Regions from separate parts of the Homo sapiens genome. Here region 2 is linked to region 1. The links are contacts of gene promoters, found by promoter capture Hi-C in blood cells and fetal thymus (Javierre and others, 2016). All regions are on one chromosome and are shown on one strand. Each heading gives the region's core, a stretch centred on a gene start or on the middle of the fragment in contact. The rest is flanking DNA. Distances are from core to core; before and after follow the strand shown. Region 1 holds the start of KERA (keratocan). Region 2 has its middle 53 kb from the start of LINC02458.

Region 1 (2,694 bases), core at 107-2,606:
AATCTGTGTTGTTCCTGAGAGGAAAGCATATGCTTTTACTTTTACTCTTAAATGAGCAGAACATCTGGATGAGATTTCCTAGGCCTTTTGGCCCTTGAACCAAAGGAATGAAGGGATCAAAGAACATTTTAGCACTTTATGGTGAAGGAAGGTTCTAGGATCTGAATAAAAATGTAATTAATCTGTTATTCTCTAGCTCAACCTCTCAAGTAAGTTTTTTGAGGGTGGGGGAAGATGTCTATAATTTTAAGCACACAATTAAGTTGTTCAGCCAAGCTATTGAATTATCAATTCTCTCTCTCTCTCCCTTTCTCTCTCTCTCTCTCTCTCAGAGAATATGTATATTCTGTCTCTATATATGTATATATATGTATATATAGAGATAGAGTTTATTATATAGAGTTGAATACATTGTGATGTATAGCACAAGTACATGAGTATTGTATTCAACTATGCCATTATTATGGTTGATAAGAAACAAAAACAACCAAAAACATATTTAGGATACGGGTGGAGAATTTCTTTATATTCATATTATCAGTGTGGATAATGGAAAGTAGGTTAGCGTTTACTAATATTTGATACATTTAAAACACATAAACCCTCCCCACTGATCATCAAAGATTATTGGTACAAATAATTATTTTAACAGGAAATATACATATATATTTTAATAATTTATAGCATACATATGTTACATATATATTTATATATATATATATATATCAGTAACATTCTGACCAATGTACATTTATTGAACTGATTGATAATAGGATGAAATAAATTTTACTGATTCCTTAGGAAAAGATAAAGTCAACTTCATTTATGAAATGCTGATCATTCAATTTTGCCATTAAATTGCAGAAAACAAGTGCAGAACTGCTTCTGCAAGCTGTCAAATTTTCTAGGATTGCAGAACGCTGCTCTGGCCATGTTCCAACAAAGAAACATCATTTTTTTTTTTCTTTTTCAGAATAGGGTTTTGGTTTAGTTATTGAAGTTGTAACCCTGCGTCTGTTGAATAAGTACTTTGCATGCTTAACTTTAAGAGTTTTTAAAAGTGCAAAATAGTTTACCTTGCCTTCCAGGAATACACCGTTGAGTCCTGTGTCTCAGTCTGAGGTTTGCTAAAAATCAGTTAAGAGAAAAAAAAAAACTTTGACGAAAATAATTTGTTTTTACTTTAAGCTGTCAAGTCGTCTATGAGAAACAGTGAAACCTACTCGTCCCAGTCACCATGAACACCTTTGATCTATTGTTTCCACTTTGACAGGGCTTCAGAAGACTGCTTACCTCAGCCTTCTTGGATCTTCTTCTTCCTTTTCTATTGGTCACTGCTTGTACATGGTAATGGATTGACCCAGGCTCCACTGTCGTGTTTTTATGAATCCTCGGTAAAATATATGCACTAGTAGATCCAAATTTAACCCCTCCAACAACCACGGAATCTTAGTGCCTACACAGCCCAGCAAAGGAAATTCTTACTTTAATCCTAATAACTCATAAAAAAATTTCTAGGCAATTTTCATTCCTAATTCACAGTTCAATTCATTAGTATATGTTGTCATGTACTGATATCCAGACCTTATTTACCAATAGGCAGCTGAAGGCAGTTTTAAAGTATAACAAAAAGATATTTTAAAAGATTTTAAAACATTTTCCCTAGATGATCATTTCTTAAAAATTGAATACAAATAATTAAAAGCCAATGTCTTCTGTTTATATGGACATATTTTATCTGTTCCTGATATAAAATAGATGCTGTAATGTGTTTGACTAAGGGAAAAATAAATAAATATATGTATTTGAAAAAATGTAAATGTGATATCTGGAAAGCACTACCTGATTTTGGTGCTAATCTTGGTATTATGCTTTTTTTCAGAGAAATAATTTTTGTATCCCTATTTCCTATTATATTTCTTTTAACAATTTATTCCAAGTACCTGCTAAGGTGGGATAATTTTTTATTCATTATAATATAACACATGTTTTGCATATAGTCCCTTATGAGACATTCTGTTACACTGCTACTTTTTTCTTTAACACATATCTAAAGTAGTGTGTCCTCCACTTCTGATACTTGATGAAAAAAAATTATGCTTCTTGAGAAAAGATGCAAACAAAAAATATTTCATTTAGGTGTTATTATGTGGATTGATTGTTGTTTTGTTTTTCAAAATCTCTCTTATTCTAGCTTCAGTGAATGTTATATGACTCATTTAACAGCTCACATGAGTATTGTCAAAGAGCACCGTGAAGAGGATTAAGCATTGGATTCAGAGGACCTTTTGTGAACCACCTCTTTCCTCTCTCCTAACCATAGGAGGGTAAATTAAAGTTCAGTTTTGTCATCTACAAAATAGTAATGGATTGCTTCACAGAGTTAGGTCTAGTTTGTTATAAACAATTACAGAAATAATAGCCTTATTTGGAATTAGCCCTACACTCTCAACTGGAAAATGCATTTATATTAAAGGGTTTTTATAGATTGAGATCCTATTTTGACATGATTTTTTACTAGTCCTATAGGTATGTAGGTGTACTCACATCACATTTTAAGAAGACAACCAAGTGTTACTTGCTTTCTCACAACAATTGTCTCCTCTCTCTGTTGCATTTCTCCCTCTCCTTTTCCTAAACCCTCAGGATTTAAACAACAGATGATCTTCAAATCTGCATGGCCCTCTTCCAGCT
Region 2 (2,694 bases), core at 85-2,584, 2.1 Mb before region 1:
CCACATATTTCTACAAATTTTTCCATGTTTTCTAAATTTTCCAGTCAAACTGTTGATCTGATTTTCTTATATCTTTGTAATCTTGGCCACATCTTTGGTTGTAGCCCCTTTTCCACTCTTAACATTGTTTATTTTGCCTTCTCTCATTTTACTTGGCCAACCTTGCCAGAGGCTTCTCACTTTTATTAGTTCTCTTTAAAAAGATTGCATTTGGTTAATTTTTGATATGTTTGTTTTCAATTAAATTTATTTCTGTTGTTTGTTAATGACTCTTCATTTTTAAGGGGTGGTTTATTCTGTTATTCTCTTTCAAATTGTATAAAATGGGAGCATGTGTGATCATTTTATCCTTCTTTATAAAGATATGATTATCTCATCCTTCTTTATGGAAAGGGCTCTACTTCTCTGCCCACTAATTTTGGTCTGACCTCTAGAACTTGTTTGGGATAATGGAATGTAAGCAGAAGGAACAAGATGTCGGTTCTTTAACTACCAATTCTGAGCACAACTCTTAGGAGATATTGTGAATTCCTAGCACAAAAGCTGGACTTGCAGCTTGGATCATGGACTGGGAAGACATTAGAGCAAAACCCACCCTACTTAAACATCTAGCAGAGCTATAGCTGAGCCAAGATTCAGTGTAACATGAACAAGAAATTATTTTTTGTTGGTATAAGTGCTAAGCTTTTGAGCCCATTTCTTACTATAGCAAAGTTGATTAAAACAAATCTTAGTATCTCAAAGATAGGTACTCCTATAACAATTGAAAATCTGTGTCTTGACTTTGAGGCCAAGAGACAAGTTGTAAAGATACTATTTTCAGAGGCTGGAACGATGATGACCCATGATATGCAATGGCAAAATATTTAGCAAACTGTCACCTTTAATAACTCAGAAAACAGATAATAGATCTACCTATTAAAGAGTGGCTTTGGAAGGAGTTTCACAACAGAATATTACTAATGTTACCTTTTCCTCTGAATTGCCATAAGAGCTCAGAGAAGAATAGGTTGCTTTGCAAGCAGGGAAGAAGCAGAAATTAGAGTAACCAGATTCTAGGGACTGACGGATAGGAAAACATAATTTTTTTAATTAGTAGAAAATAAATGCTTTGAGCAACAAAATCTCAGATTAAAACACATGTCCAAATAAAGGACATTGCCATTCATATCCTTTGTTAAAAACTATGAATGGTTTAAGATGACTACTAGAAAATTATGCCAGTTGGACAAAATGACTTAGAAGAAAGAGATGCCAACAGTTTCCTTGAAGCTGGGTAGCTCACATTATTTATAAGTAAGTCTGGAGAGAAAGGCACATTTCCAAATAACAGAGGTGTAGCTATTTGAATATGTTGCTGATTAAAATCAATTCATTGAAAAAACAATCATGTTTTTCAGAGAGTTATAATGCCAAAAGTTCCAATAGCCTGGATTAAAATAGACTGTAACTGTTAAAATATAAAACAACTTTTGGGCTTCCAGCTTTCTAGGAGAAAGGAGCAGGCTTAACAAGCTGCTCAGCCCCCAAAGATGCATATTATTCAATACCCTTTTGAGATATGGCCAAGGAGGAAAATAGAAAATAACTCTTCTGGAGAGAAGTGCTTGGCACCATGGAATATAGACTGGGCAAAATAAAGGCCTAATCACATAACATTTCTTATCCTCTTTCCAATGGGAGTAGTTTTTGCAGTAATTGTTCACTGTCCCATGATCCTGTATTTGAGGGCAGTGCCTTTTTATGTGTTAGATCTCTAGATCTTCACTCAATGGAGACACTATCATGAGACCCTAGGTATTGACCTTGAATCTGATATTAGGATTTCTTCATTAGGGGAGGGAGTTAATATATTTTGATTGTAGAAACAAAGAAACTTATTTTTTTATTAAGATAGCAGATAGTAGTATATTTCCTTGGAAAACACCTCAATCCATAGACCTTGATATTGGGCATAGACTAGACAATGTTCCAGTTCTGGGGAGAAGCTTTAAGGTACAAATGACTTTCCAACACCTATCTTGTTCTTCACCCTACCATTAGGAACAAGAATAGATTGGTCTCCACAGTAGTTCCTTCAACCTGGGTCTTGGAATGATAAAACACATGAAGCAAGCTGCAGGGAAGAACAACACTGGGGCAGAGCAGTATCTGACTCACATCTACATGTAATGTGAAAAGGAAATACATTTTTGTCAGTGTAACACACTGAGATTCATGGTGGTATGTTACTGTAGCAAAACCGACTGAAAGAGATGCTTAGTTCATTAATTTTCACATCTTTTTTCCTAATAAAAGAAATTAGAGTTACAACAGGACTACAAATTAGTCCATTTTCACACTGCTATAAGGAACTGCTTGAGACTGGGTGATTTATAAAGAAAAGAGATTTAATTGACTCGCAGTTCAGCATGGCTGGGAGGCCTCATGGAACTTACAATCATGGCAGAAGATGAAGGGGAAGCAAGACATGTCTCACATGGCAGCAGGAGAGACAGAAAGCTAAGGGAAAAGTACCACTTTTAAACAGTTAGATCTCGTGAGAACTCACTATCACAAGAACAACATGAGGGAGACCACCCCCATGATCCAGTCACCTCCCACCAGGTCTCTCCCTTCACATGTGGGGATTACAATTCGACGTGAGATTTAGGGGGTGGACACAGAGCCAAACCATATCATAACATTTTATCT

What was found. Contacts are between HindIII fragments. The CHiCAGO score rates a contact against its expected background, and 5 or more counts as called.
Region 2: a contact is called between a fragment that was not itself captured here and the fragment with the promoter of KERA in region 1, in 1 of 17 cell types (total B cells). The highest score is 6.4, in total B cells.

Annotation. Positions count from the first base shown.
Region 1 is chr12:91,056,668-91,059,361 of GRCh38, forward strand. It overlaps KERA (keratocan), which reads right to left and starts at 1,357. Exons shown (of 3, transcript NM_007035.4): 1 at 1,077-1,357. The HindIII fragment of the contact is 7,392 bases long and covers 1-2,694 here.
Region 2 is chr12:88,965,212-88,967,905 of GRCh38, forward strand. No RefSeq gene overlaps it. Among named protein-coding and RNA genes, the nearest start is that of LINC02458, 53 kb to the right of the region's middle. The HindIII fragment of the contact is 1,304 bases long and covers 683-1,986 here.